Linked DNA regions of Homo sapiens: region 1 is linked to region 2. Evidence: promoter capture Hi-C in 16 types of primary human blood cells and fetal thymus (Javierre and others, 2016). All regions are on one chromosome and are shown on one strand. Each heading gives the region's core, a stretch centred on a gene start or on the middle of the fragment in contact. The rest is flanking DNA. Distances are from core to core; before and after follow the strand shown. Region 1 overlaps MSH3 (mutS homolog 3). Region 2 holds the start of FAM151B (family with sequence similarity 151 member B).

Region 1 (7,465 bases), core at 4,100-6,599, 210 kb before region 2:
ATTTAAATACATCAAATCAAATTAGAATTTGAAAAGGTCTAAAAGTTTGCAAAGTGAAAATCTCTCTGTAAAACAAAATCACCACCACCTTATTTGCCTCACATCTAAATCCTGATTTTTACACATAAGGATGGGCTTACCAGGCAAAAAGCACCATAATCACTCCAGAGAGATCAGCACAGCCTAGCACCTCTGAAAACAAAAGCAGGAAAATCATACAGATACCCTAAGCCACAAAGAGAAATCTGGAAGATGAAGCTTCACTCACTAAGCACCTGGAGGGCAAGCAGCACCAACCAGGAAATGCATTCCACTTTTGAGGTTACAACAAAGAAACCCATAAACACTTCATCTCACCATGAGGACTGGTGGAGGTGAAGACTGAATTCCAGTATTGTTTTCTACACTTAGCCAGTATTTAACTCTGGAATTGTACTTTCAAAAAAGTCATTCTTTGGTGACTGAGCAGGGACGGACAGTAAGGAGGACCTTGTAGGACCTGGGAAGGCCAGGCTGAGCCCATGGGACCCACGCAGGTCACCCTCAGTGACCCACAGTCACGGCGGCGTGGGTAGCACTGATAGACCCAGTGCTGATAGACCCCGGAACAGAAAATCAGGGAGCCCCACTGAGATCAGGACACTTCAGCAGAAGGAGTGTCAAAGGGCAGGACTTCTAAGGAAGATTCTTCCTCCCAGAAGCCCACCATTGTGGCCTGCAGGCCAAATCTCGCAGGACATACTACAGCTGGCTGGGCACCACAGAACACGCCCTATGCAGAAACCACAGACACGTGCTTCCTGGCCCATTATAAAAGATTCCCCTGAGATTATGAACAAAATCAGGCTGCCCACTCTCTGCACTTAGATTTAGTGTTATACTAGTGTTTACGTCCAGTCAACAAACCAATTAAAAAAAAAACTCTTTATATGTTTCTAGAGCACATCAGCACATTGACAAAGGACTACTTTAGTATACAGGATAACAGCAGGAGTGAATAAAAACACATTCCTGAAGTAAAATCTGTGCACTGTTGTTACAGAAGGAAAGATAAAGTATTAGGAAATATGCAAGATGGAAGCTTCTCTCCTTCTTCAAGCAGACTTCAGCATACACAGGACTTCAGAATTAACCTGAGGGAGCCCTTTGCTCTGCAGCCCCAGGAAAATGACAGAGTGTGACAGGAGGCTAAGCTATGTGTCTCTCTGGAGGAATAAGTAGGTGGGAGGGAGGCAGAATCTGACAATCAACCTGCAGGCCAGGCTGCTCCCACTGTTCTCTGGAAGGCAGAAGCAATAGAAATTCTGTATGGGTGGGCAATCTCTTGTCTTAAGCAATTTAATCACCCACAAGTAAACTTTGTGATATCTGGAGGTTGATAGTTAGGAGTTACATAAAAGAATGTAAAGTATACTTACCTATAAGGTAATTCATACATAAATGATACCCTGACTTAGCAACTAGAAATTGCTCACACTTAAAAAGGGCACTAATCACTTTATCAAGTACTTCCTCAACTGCCCAATGTTTCAGTCAGAACCACAATTCAAATGTACATTCCTAAACCTGTCATTTATTATGGACATATTAAATAATAATTGTAATCACCTCAAAGGATTGTTGTGAAGATGACATCAGTTAATTTCAGTAATGGCAGAATGTACCAGGTACATAATAAGAACTTCATTAGCTGTTTTTATTTTTGTTTTGTTGCTGTTGCTTGTCTCGCTCTGTCGCCCAGGGAGGAGTGCAGTGGCATGATCTCGGCTCACTGCCACCTCAGCCACCCGGGTTCAAGTGATTCTCCTGCCTCAGCCTCCCAATTAGCTGGGACTACAGCTGCTTGCCATCATGCGCAGCTAATTTTTGTATGTTTAGTAAAGACAGGGATTTACCATGATGCCCAGGCTGGTCTCAAACTCCTGAGCTCAAGCGATCCACCTTCCTCAGCCTCCCAAAGTACTGGGATTACAGGCGTGAGCCACTGCACCCAGCCAGCTATTTTTTTTTTTAAATAAATTATTTCAACCTTGTTTAAACTTTGCTTTCATTGAGGAATGTATTTTCCCCCAAATCTGTCTAGTTAAGTGTTACCTGTCTTTCTAGGCCCATCTCTTGCATACAGCTGTGCTACTGTCTATAAAACTACATTGCCTTATACAGTAGCTACTAACCACATGCAGTTAATGAGCACTTGAAATGTCATGGCTGGACACAAACTATCTTAAATATGCCATGCGATACCTAGCACTCCTCTGCTCCCAGTGGCTCCCACCAGGTAAGGACTAACCCTGTGGTGTGGTCATGCTCCCATATGGCCATCAGGGAGGCATGCAAGCCCACTCATCATGCATTCTTCTCTAAACTTGCCTTCACATTAAGGTTGGGGACAACCCAGTACACCCACATGGTGTGTTCAGGATTCATGTCCACTCCCATGAGGTGCAGAGCCCAGCTCAGCCAGGCCAAGAAGAGAACTGGACAGAGCTGAAGGTATAAAATAAGGGAGCAGTCACAATGGCACCAAGGGAAAGAATCCTAGGACCTGGTCACGGAGCATTCTGGACTGCAGTGGGGAGCTTCCACAAAAGCCTGGAAAAAACTCAGTATTGTGTATATTAAGTCAATTTATATTAATAAATTTTATATTAATGTATATTGATTATTGATACAAAATCAAGTATCAGAGGGTTTTTGGGTTTTTTTTGTTTCTGTTGTTTTTTCAGAAAGAAGGGTAGAAAAAGAAGGGAGGGAGGAAAAACTGTACAGAAAAACCATACCAGGCCTCCATAGGCTTTTACTGCTTTAGGGATCAAGACTTGGGCCAGAGGTTAAAAAGGATTCACAAAAAAGCTGGCAGGAGGAAGAAATTCCTGGCCTGAAAACAAGAGATAAGAAAATAATCTCAAAGCAAGCAAGCAGGGAAAATAAGAGAAATTAGTAAGAAGTCTCCCTTCAGCAGGGAGGTTCGACAGGAAGAAGTCATTACAAAGACAAATGGACAAGAAGGAGTCCACAAAGGCTGGGAGATAAGCAAGCCCAGAGGAGCTCTGAACTAAGCTGGCCTCAAGTTTTTGACTTCAGGTAGAAAGTGAAAGGAAGCTTTGCTGGAAGGGAAGAGATTAAAAGGGATCTCTCCTTGAACCATGAAAAGGAGAAGAAAAAAATAAAGAGATCCTGAGGACAGACAGTAACTGTATTTGGAGTTCAGTGAAGGGGGATTTTTGTCTTTTACATTGCTGTCAGGTTACACCTTAATGATAGCAGGTGAACTCACCAGTATCAAACAGGGTTAGGGCTCTAGTGGGCTTTGCCACTTACTACCTAAGTGATCCTGTAACTTCAAGAGAGGTTCACAGCATCTCTGCCTCCTTGCAGAAAGAAGAGGATAACTACACTTTCTTCAGAGGGCTGTGCCAGGGTTATTGAAGCCATGAACAATGTGTCTTCAAGAATGATGGGACTCAATCTTTCCCTTCATCTCCTGTCTTTCCTTTTTCTTCCTTTCCATTTACCCCCTACCTTGCAACTCGTACTGTTTCCCTTTGCCTTCACCTGAAATAATAAAGACTACTTTAATATTTAGTGTAGGATTTTTTTAAGATGCTAATAATAAATCATTTAAAAGCACTTTTAATATATTAACATTTATAACACAAACTTCTGGGAAAAGCCATGAGGACAAGACGCTTTAGCTAAATAAAGAGTCTTTATGCAATTAAATCCTCAAACCCAAATGAACAGGTGTATTTACAAAAATCAAGTCGAATTAGTAAAACAAATGCAGCACACCTCACACAATTGCTTCCAAACTTTCTGTTCAAGCAGTCTGGCCCCACTTTAGGAGGTCTCTGTAGTAATCAGGAAGATCTTTTCTCCACACTTCTCAAATGCTGTTTCTTCCTATTCGACTATCAATAAACCTACTGCAAATACACCCCATTTTTTCTTTTCAAGGAGATATATTCCTGAGGAGAATGCACTTGATGAAAATGCACAAAGAAGCTCTCATTCTTTAAATAAACTCATGGCAAATGTTCTTATAAAATAACTATCACCTATTAACTTATCATGTTTTAAAATCTGGATTTTCATGAGTTAAGCACATCCATTAAAATTGCTAGCTAGATATACAAAAAGTATCAGGACTAAAAAAAAAACCTACTGAAAATACAATGGCATTACCACCAGGGAAGAAATTAATGTAATTTTTAAAAAGAAATTTCAAAATGACAGATTTTTTAATACTAATAACACTTCCTCTTTAAATGGTTTCCCAGTGGCAAACATTTTCCTACAGCATATGAGATTTATTTCTTCCATTTAGTCACTACCATCTCTACTACCAGAATTGATTTGTTCTGTCGCCCAGACTGGAGTGCAGTGGGGAGATCTCGACTCACTGCAACCTCTGCCTCCCAGGTTCGAACAATTCTCCTGCCTCAGCCTCCTGAGAAGGTGGGATTACAGGCACGTGCCATCATGCCCAGCTAATTTTTTGTATTTTTAGTAGAGATGAGGTTTCACCATGTTGGCCAGGCTGACCTTGAACTCCGGACCTCAAGTGATCCACCCGCCTCAGCCTCCCAAAGTGCTCGGATTTTAGGCATGAGCCACCCTGCCAGGCCCACAATTTATTTTCTAATTCTAGATTATCTAAATAGTTAAGTGAAACTACCGTCTAATAAACATAATGAAACAGAATGACAAAGTAGTCAACTTTATATTTATCTTCTGCTCTCGAAAAGAGGAATGAGGAAAATGGGGAAGACAAAATATAAAGAAAAAAAGAGATTTCCTACGAATACCACAACAGAAAAGGTTTCAAGCGCCAGAGGGGAGGCTAGTGCCTAGTTATCATCAATATCAATCTTTAAACAGTAACTTAGCCATGTAGATCCCATTAATATTTGCTGTAAAGGAATATCTATGGAAATGTCAGGATGCTTCAATCAATTTACAGTGATATTAAAAAATTTTTTAAAGAAATAAACATAATGGGGAAAAAACGATAAGAAATCAATATGATCTTTCCAAAAGAGTAAATGAATTGGCTACATCTGTATAATGTAAATCTATATAATGTAAATAGACATTGATTACCATATATGTTAATGTATAGATTTCCAGCTACTCCAACAACCTTTTTTTTTTTTTTTTTTTTTTTGGAGACAGTGTTGTACTCTGTTGCCCAGGCTGGAGTGCAGTGGTGCAATCTTGAATCACTGCAACCTCCACCTCCCGGGTTCAAGCCATTCTCCTGCCTCAGCCTCCCAAGTAGCTAGGATTACAGGTGCTGACACCACACCCAACTAATTTTTGTACCTTTAGTAGAGGTGGGGTTTCACCATGTTGGCCAGGCTGGTCTGGAACTCCTGACCTCAGGTGATCCACCCATCTCGTCCTCCCATAGTGCTGGGATTACAGGTATGAGCCACCACGCCCAGCCTTACAACAACCCTTCTATGTTTAAAAAACCCAAATCAGTTTTGTTAAGAAAAACAAATAGGAGATACCCATTATTCTCTTTATTCTAAACATCACTTATTTAATCATTCATTTACCAAGCATTTATTAAGCACCTATTATGTGTGAGCTACTTTGATAGGTGCTGGGTACACAAAGGGTCACTAGGCTACGGTCCCCATCACCAGCCATCTCAGCTCAGTCTCTGTCACAGGAAACTCTTTATCCAGGCCCTGTGTAATGCCGCTTTCTCACTCCACCGTTTCACTCTTGATTCTCTTTTTATTTTTTATTTATTTGTATATTTTTATTATACTTTAAGTTCTAGGGTACATGTGCACAACGTGCAGGTTTGTTACATATGTATACATGTGCCATGTTGGTATGCTGCACCCATTAACTTGTCATTTACATTAGGTATATCTCCTAATGCTATCCGTCCCCCCCACCACCCCACAACAGGCCCCCCGGTGTGTGAGGTTCCCCTTCCTGTGTCCAAGTGTTCTCATTGTTCAATTCCCACCTATGAGTGAGAACATGCGGTGTTTGGTTTTTTGTCCTTGCGACAGTTTGCTGAGAATGATGGTTTCCAGCTTTATACACCCTTTCTCTCCAAAACACGTCTGTCCTGCCTCAGGTTGCCTGCTCATGCTGGCAGAGTAACCCAGCCAAACTAGTTTCTGCTTCCTAAGAAAAGCACGCTCTCTCACACCTCCACCTGACTGGCATTCATTCTTCCAGTCTCAATTCTAACACACCCCTCTAGCAAACTAGCATGATGCTCAAGGGCTGCCAGTAACTCTAAGATATTTTCAACCAGCGCTTTCATTACAATTATTTCCATGACTACCTCCCCTCTAGACTATAAGAACTTGGAAAGGAGGGATCTTTCTCATTTCTGTATCCTTGCCACCTAGTAACAAAGCTGGCGCACAGCAGCCACTCAATAACTGTGTTTAAGGATGAATAAATGAATGACTGTATAATAATGTTCAACTTAGAAGATGTATCAACAACTTGAGAATCTACTGGAAACATCCATCAAAATGCAGATTTTGGCCAGGCGCAATGGTCCACGCTTGTAATTCCAACATTTTGGGGAGGCCAAGGTGGGTGGATTGCTTGAGCCCAGGAGTTTAAAACCAGTATAGAAGACATAGAGAGGCCTCATCTCTACAAAAAAAATTAGCTGGGTGTGGTTGAGCACACCTGCAGTCCCAGCTACTCAGGAGGTTGAGGTGGGAGGATTGCTTGAGCCTGGGGGGTCAAGGCTACAGTGAACCACGATGGTGCCACCATACTCCAGCCTGAGGAAGAGTGAGACCCCGTCTCAAAAATAAATAAATAACATCGATTTGTTTGATATAAAAAAATCAATTAGAATTTCCTGGTATCCAATTTAATAAAATAAACTTGACAGCAGGATAAAATACCTTTAAAAAGGTGAGCTACTATAAAAAATGGAGTAACTCATCTTAAGAGAGCTTAAATGTCCTTTCTGGGCTTCAAATTCATCTATATTTCTCTACATCTCAAGTTTGGATTTTTTTTCATTCAAACAATGGTCCCACTTATACTAGATTTAGCTTACACAATCTAAATGACAAGTGGCAGAAAATGTGACACACATTGCCTTTACAATTGCTCCAACATGTTTCCTTAACTTCAGTCATTCCCCTTTACCTTCAATAATACTGACATATTTGTAAGGACATCACTACTATAACCTGATAGTTCTTGTTAAGTTAACTCACATTTTTAACTCAAATACCAACTTAAGAATCTTTCTTTGCAACACATTTATGAAATCACAGGTTTGATTCACTGATTATATGTTTTTAATATACCTTAAGTAAATATTTAACTATGAAGGTAAAAAACGTTATTTGTGAAGCACTTAAAATTATATCAGGTAAGTAAACCAGGTGTAACTTGGCTCCAGCTGCCAACACCTTGTATAACTCAGGCACCTTTCTTATGGCAGGGCCATTCCTCTGTC
Region 2 (7,638 bases), core at 628-3,127:
TAGTTTTATCAATAACTCGGTAATGAGAAGAAATTTTTGTTTTTGTTTTTGTTTTGAGACAGTTTCTCTCTGTTGCTCAGGCTGGAGTGCAGTGGCGCAATCTTGGCTCACCGCAAGCTCCGCCTCCCGGGTTCACGCCATTCTGCTGCCTCAGCCTCCTTAGTAGTTGAGACTACAGGCGCCGCCACCACGCCCGGCTAATTATTTTGGATTTTTAGTAGAGACGAGGTTTCACTGTGTTAGCCAGGATGGTCTTGATCTCCTGACCTCGTGATCCGCCCACCTCGGCCTCCCAAAGTGCTGGGATTACGGGCGTGAGTCACCGCGCCCGGCCCAAAAATTTGTTTTTTAAAAAATGGCATTTGTCAGCAATTGGACATTTTTCACTTGTGCACACATTTTATTCCAAGATTTTGTAAACCTTGCATCGATTCAGAAGAGAATCTGGATTTATACAGCCTGTGAGTGAGAATGGTGTAAGTCTTGAGTGTGAGCTTTGTCCCAGATTTGTTTGGATTCTTAGGAAAACTAGGCATTAAAAGGATTTATACTGAGAAGAGCACAAGGGTTAAAAAAGGAAAACTCTGGTCTGAAAAAATGTTCTACGGAGGTTTAGCACAGATCTTAAAAAAGAGAGAGAGAAAAAAGTTCACATCCTTTGATCCAGTAATTTCAGTTACAAGAATCGTGTCCAGGATAAAAACAAACCAAAAACATAACTGAGGAAGAACAATGCAAAAATGTTCATTACAGAATGAATTCTAACAAAACAAAACAAAACAGGAAACGACTGATTAACGTTCAACATTAGGAGACTGGTTAATTACAATATAATTGTATACAATATAATTGTATAAAACACTTCAGTCATTCAAAATTATGTTTATAAAAACCTTGGTGACATGGGATAGTATAAGATGCAGGATTTTAAAAATTATGTTTACCATGACCTTAACTCTATTTTTAAGAGTCAGGGTTGTTAGAAAATACCAAAAAGTTAGTAGTGGTGCCTGTGGGTATCAGCATTTGGGGGATTTTTTTTTCCTATTTCCCTATACTAATATACTTTATAAATGTTCTATAATGGCATTTATCAGGACCTGGACATTTTTCGCTTACACACACATTTTATTCCAAGATTCTGTAAACTGTGCATCGATTCAGAAGAGAACCTGTATTTATACAGCCTGCTAGTCAGAATGGTGAAAGCGTGTATTATTTTTACAATTAGGGAAAAAAATCTAAACTGAAGAAAGAACGCGTCACTGACGTTGTCTCATGCCACTACTTAAGTTTACAGAAAAGATACTGTAACCTTCAAGAGCGGAACTGCTGTCCCGCGAGTTGAAGCACCTGATTCCAAGGGGAATCAAGCGAGCCGCACACTCTGCCAGCTTTCCAGGCAGCGCGCTCAGCAGCGGGACTATGCCGGGCCCGGCCCAGTCCGCATTCCCAAACCTCCCCCAGCTTTCAAAGAGGAACCTACTGACCCAGACCGCCCCCATACGGTCGGCTGAAATTAAGGATTAGGGAAACGTCACATTCCTTTCTTTCCAACCCAGACCTCAAAAGACACTGACCCTGCCATTCTCGACCTCCCCTAACGCCTGTCCCTTAGAGCCCACCCGGCAAACCAAGGTCCTTGCCAGGCGATCGCGGGCGCGCCCCGAGTGCAGAGCGGGCTCCAAGCCCAGCCGCCCGGTTCTGCGCGGCGCGCTCCCAGGTCCCTAGCAAGGAAGACCGCGGGAGCCCGCAAAGGGAGGGTACGGCCGGCGGAGCCTCTCAAAGCGCCCCACCTCCAGGCAGAGGCCGCGCGCTCGGCGCTTACCTGGGCCTCCAGCGGATGCTGCCATGGTGACGACGCCCGCCGTCCGCGCAGGCGCCCAGGCTGGCGCCCCTGCTAACCGGGCACTGGTGGCAGGGAAATTCGACTCCACAAACCACAGGCCTCGGCGGGGGAAGAGCCCGGCGGGCGCCAGCGAAGCGGAACCAAACGGAGCCGCGGCACGCAGGCGCAAAGGCTGGCGTTCGAGGTTCGTTTACGCGCCGCTTCGCCGTGCAGGTGGTGGCGAAGCGCTCCTCCGAAAGGTTTCGGAAGCTGGTGGTAGCTCTGAAGATAACGCTGCGTTAGGGCATACTGCGGCGGAGGATGGAACTCCGATTGAAAGCAGTTGCTGGAGTGGAGCACGAATTTCAACAGTTGGGTATATTTTCTTTTAAATGTTAGTAATATCCTAAAAGGGTGTGGAATCATTACTGATAAAAATCAGTGTTTCTGGCCGGGCACGGTGGCTCAGGCCTGTACTCCCAGCACTTTGGGAGGTCGAGGTGGGCGGATCACTTGAGGTCAGGAATTCGAGACCATCCTGGCCAACATGGTTAAAACCCGTCCTTACTGAAAATTTAAAAAATTATCCTGGCGTGGTGGCGCGCGCCTGTAATCCCAGCTACTCGGGAGGCTGAGGCACAAGAATGGCTTGAACCGGAGAGGTGGAGGTTGCAGAGAGCCGAGATCGCTCCACTGCGCTCCGGTCTGTGCGATAGAGCTAGACTGTCAAATAAATAAATAAATAAATAAATAAGTTTTTGTACAAAGTTACCGAGCTGATAACTTGAAGTTTTCTCTCCCCTTCTGTCTCTCTACCAGTGTTCACTCAGAAAACGCTCTCAGCAACTGGGTCCTCCCATCCACTGTCTTTCTAGCCCTCCTTAACTCATTACTTTTTGAAGCCAAACTAGTGATCAGAATTAACAACAAAGCTCTGCCATTTTCAGCTTCTGTGACCAAAAAACTCAATCTGCCAGTGGTAGAGTTAGGATAACTAACATCACCTGACACGTAATACAAAGGGGAGTTATTCTTGCCCAGCCTTTCAGATAAAATATTTTTCATCACTCCAAAGCAATCACTCTCCATTTACCCCCTTCCTACCCCCAGGCAACAACTCATCTACTTTCTGTCTCATGAATTTGCCTATTCTGGAATTTCATGTAAATAGAATCACAGACTGTATGTATGATCTTTGTAACTGGCTTCTTTCACTTAGCATGTTTTCAAAATTCACCCATGTTTTAGCATGTATCAGTACTTCCTTCCTTCTTATGCTGGAATAAATTCCAGTTTGTAAATACCACATTTTATGTGTGTCCATTCAACAGCTGAAGGACATTCGGGTTGTTTCTACATTTTGTCTTTTATGAATGCTGCTGCTGTGAACATTCATGGACAAGTTTTGTGTGGACGTATATGAATACATTCCTGTGTGCATATCTGTGTACATACCTAGGAGTGGAACTACTTGTTCATATAGTAACTGTTTAACTGTGTGAGGAACTGCCAGTTTTGCAAATCAGCTGTACCATCTTTCATTCCCACCAGCAATGTATGAAGATTCCAATTTCCCCACATCCTTACCAGTCAGTACTTGTTGTTATGTTTTTTAAATTATAGCCATCCTAGTAGATATGAAGTACTACCTCATTATCTTGATTTGTAGTTCCCTACTAATAATATTGAGCATATTTTCAGGTGCTATCGGTCATTTATATATTTCCTTTGGAGAAATGTCTTCTCAAATCCTGTGCTCATTTCAATTGTGAGAATTCTTTATATAGTCTCAATACAAGTCCCTTAACAGGTAATTTGCAAATATTTGCAATATTTTCTCCCGTTGTGCAGATTGTCTTTTCACTTTCTTGATGGCATTGATTGCAGTACAGGTCTTTTTTAAAAAACTTGTTTTTCTTTTTTTTTAGATGAAGTCTCACTCTGTTCCCCCAGGCTGGAGTGCAGTGGCACGATCTCGGCTCACTGCAACCTCCACCTCCCGGGTTCAAGCGATTCTCCTGCCTCAGCCTCCTGAGTAGCTGGGATTACAAGCACGCACCACCACGCCTGGCTAATTTTTGTATTTTTAGTAGAGACAGGATTTCACCATGTTGGCCAGGCTGGTCTCGAACTTCTGACCTCAAGTGATCCACCCGCCTCAGCCTCCCAAAGTGCTGGGATTACAGGCGTGAGCCACTGTGCCCGGCTTTTTTTTTTTTTCATTTTTAAAATTTTTAACTTCAGGGGTCCAAGTGCAGGTTTGTTACACAGGTAAACTGTATCATAGGGGTTTGTTGTACAGGTTGTTTCATCACCCAGGTATTAATCCTAGTACCCATTCATTGTTTCTCCTGCTCTCCCTCCTCCCACCCTCCACCCTCCAAAAGTCCCAGTGTGTTGTTCCCCACTCTGTGTCCATGTGTCTCATCATTTAGCTCCCACTTATAAGTAACAGCATGCAGTATTTGGTTTCTGTTCCTGCATCAGTTTGCTAAGTTTTTATGACATATTGGTCACAATATTACAATATTTTCATATATTTTACAATAACTGACTCAAAATTCCTCTTCACTGTCCTTATTTTTAGAGCCGCATGTTGAAGTGTGAGGCGTGAAAGGGTATGTCTGATATTTGCTTTAAAATGCTCCAGCAAAGAAATTAAGGGATGGATGAAGCAAAAGAGGTAAGTCTTGATAGTGTTGACTCAGAGGATTGTTGTAGGCTGGGTATATAGATTTTCATCCTACTATTTCCTTTACTTCTGAGTGTTTGGAAATTTTATGGTAAAAATAAGTCTAATTACTTTTTTGGCACAAAAAAGGTTTTGTAAGTTAAGGGTACATGCTGCACTGGGGAAAGAATATAACGATTAGAATGTGAGACACAGGCCCCAACTTGAGTCTGGGGCTGCTTTTGGTGACATCTAAACATGAATAAAGGCCAGGCATGGTGGCTCACACATGTAATCCCAGTACTTTGGGAGGCTGAGGCAGGAGGAGACCAGGACTTTGAGACCAGCCTGGACAACATAGTGAGACCCATCTCTACGAAAAAATAAAAAACAAGCCAGGTGTGTCGGCATGTGCCTGTAGTATCAGCTAATCAGGAGGCTAAGGTGGGAGGATTGCTTGAGCCCAGGAACTCAAGGCTGCAGTGAGCCATGATCACACCACTGCATTCCACCTGGGCCGCAGAGTGAGACTCTGTCTCAAAATCAAAACAAAGCACTGCATGAATACAGCTTACCTCATTTTCAGAGTCCTAATAGCTAGAAAGTTTTCCCTCAAATTCCAATTTAGTTTCTAGCTGTGTGACTTTGGACAGATTACTCTCTCTCTGAACTTGGTATCTAGTCTATGAAATGCAATAATAAATCACAGGGGAACTGGGTGCAGTGGCACGCACTTGTAGGCTCAGCTACCCAGGAGGCTGAGGCAGGAGGATGGGTTAAGAGCCTAAGTTCAAGGCTGTAGTGTGCCATGACTGTGCCTGTGAATAGCCACTGCACCCTAGGCCTGGGCAATACAATGAGACCCTGTCTCATAAATAAATAAATAAATAAATAAATTTAAAAATAAATTACAGGGTAATATTCCTTGTTCTGAAGTTTGCTTTGTCTGATAGCAAAATAACCACTCCAGCTTTGTCCTTTTCTTCTTCTTTTTAGTGTTTGCATGGAATATCTTTTTCCATCCTTTTACTTTTTAACCTGCATGTACCATTGTATCATAAGTGGCTTGTATAGATAGCATATAAATTAGGTTTTAAAAAAATCCATCTGGCCAGGCATGGTGGCTCATGCCTGTAATTCCAGTCCTTTGGGAGGCCAAGACAGGCAGATCAGTTGAGGACAGGAGTTCAAGACTATCCTGGACAAAATGGTGAAACTCCATCTCTAATAAAAACAAAGAAAAAATTAGCCAGATGTGGACATGCCTGTAATCCCAGCTACTCAGGAGGCTGAAGCAGGAGAATCACTTGAACCTGGGAGGTGGAGGTTACAGTGAGCCGGGATTGTGCCACTGCACTCCAGCCTGGGTGACAGAATAAATGAGACTTGATCCAAAAAAAAAAAAAAAAATCAATTGCCATATTTAGACCATTTACATTTAATGTAATTGTTATTTATTTTTATTTTTAGGGACAGGGTCTTGCTCAGTGGCCCAGGCTGGAGTACAGCGGTATGATCACAGCTCACTGCAGCCTCAAACTACTGGGCTCAAATGATCTCCCACCTCAGCCTCCTGAGTAGCCAGGACTATAGGCATGCACTACCATGGTTGGCTAATTCTTTTAAGTTTTATGTAGATACGGGGCCTCACTACATTGCCCAGTCTGATCTTGAACTCCTGGCCTCAAGTGATCTTCCTGCTTCAGCCTCCTAAAGTGTTGGGATTATGGGCATTAGCCACCACACCTGGCCTAGTGTAATTTTTGATACAGCTGGATTTAGGTCTACCATTTTAGCATTAATTTTTCTTGTTGATCCCTTATTTCTTTTACACTTGTTTTCCTTGCTGGCTTTATTTTGAATTATTTAAAATTCCACTTTATATGTCGGCTTTTTAAACATATCTCCTTGCATAGTTTTTTAAAATGGTTGCTCTAGAGATGATCATTACATACCAAACTTTTTGTAACCTACTATAATGTTTTACCACTTTAAGTGAAATTTAGAAAACTTACCATATAGGTTCTGTCACTGTCCCCTTGGTTAGTATGCAGTTTTCATCTGTATTACATCTATATGCATTGAAAATCCCAAAAGATGATGTTACAATTTTTTTATTTCAGCAGTTACATATATTTTAACAAACATGTAAGTCTATTTGGTTTATCCAGAGATTTGCCATTTTGGTTGCTCTTCCTTCTTTGCAATCATTTTCCTTCCCCATGAACTTCCTTTACCATTTCTGTTAAAGGAGGACTACTAGCAATGAATTATTTTAGCTTTCCTTCTTCTGACAATGTCTTTATTTCAGCCAGGTATGGTGGCTCATGCCTCTAATCTCAGCACTTTGGGAGGCCGAAGCAGGCAGATCACCTGAGGTCAGGAGTTTGAGACCATCCTGACCAACATGGTGAAACTCGTCTCTACTACAAACATAAAAAAATTAGCTGGGCGTGGTACCACGCACCTGTAATCCCAGCTACTCCTCTGGAGGCTCAGACAGGAGAACTGCTTGAACCGGGAGGCGGAGGTTGCAGTGAGCTGAGATCGCACCAATCCATTCCAGCCTGGGCAACAGAGTGAGACTCCATCTCATAAAAAAAAAAAAAGTAAAGAAAAAAAAGAAAATGTCTTTATTTCATTTTCTTTCCTAAAGAATATATTTGCTGGATAAAGGATTCTGTGTTGACAGTTTTGTTGCTTTTTAAAAGCACTTTATAAATGTTGCTCCATGGTTTCTGATGAGAAATCTGCCATCACTGAAATCTTTGGTTCTCCTATATACAAAGTGTTGTTTTCTTCCAGTTGTTTTCAAAGTATTTTCTTTACAGTTGGTTTCATCACTTTGATTATGACGTGCCTGGGTGTGGTTTTCCTTTTTGGGATTTGCTGTGCCAGCAGACCGGCTTTAAATAGAATGCTATGTAAATGTATGTGAATATTTGTTTTTTGCCAGATGTTTGGAAGTTTTTAGCTATTATTTCTTCAGATATTTTTTTCTTCCAATTGTTCTTTCTGGGCTCCTAAGACATGAATATTAGACTGTTTCATATTGTCCCACAGATCCCCAAAGGTCTTCTCATTTTTTTCACTTTTTTCTCTGTCATTCAGACTAGATAATTTCTGCTCATGTATCTTC

What was found. The method cuts DNA at HindIII sites, captures the fragments that hold promoters and counts their contacts. A CHiCAGO score of 5 or more calls a contact.
Region 1: a contact is called between a fragment that was not itself captured here and the fragment with the promoter of FAM151B in region 2, in 1 of 17 cell types (neutrophils). The highest score is 5.4, in neutrophils.

Annotation. Positions count from the first base shown.
Region 1 is chr5:80,697,261-80,704,725 of GRCh38, reverse strand. All of the region lies in intron 8 of MSH3 (mutS homolog 3), which reads right to left. Among named protein-coding and RNA genes, the nearest start is that of DHFR, 46 kb to the right of the region's middle. The HindIII fragment of the contact is 4,490 bases long and covers 3,105-7,465 here.
Region 2 is chr5:80,482,339-80,489,976 of GRCh38, reverse strand. It overlaps FAM151B (family with sequence similarity 151 member B), which reads right to left and starts at 1,877. Exons shown (of 6, transcript NM_205548.3): 1 at 1,829-1,877. The coding sequence starts at 1,853. FAM151B-DT (FAM151B divergent transcript) reads left to right here and starts at 2,031. Exons shown (of 3, transcript NR_172938.1): 1 at 2,031-2,199; 2 at 4,416-4,511; 3 at 6,811-7,177. ZFYVE16 (zinc finger FYVE-type containing 16) reads right to left here. Exons shown (of 19, transcript NM_001284236.3): 19 at 6,598-7,638. RefSeq lists a silencer at 1,313-1,607 and enhancers at 1,272-1,771, 1,772-2,273. The HindIII fragment of the contact is 15,498 bases long and covers 1-7,638 here.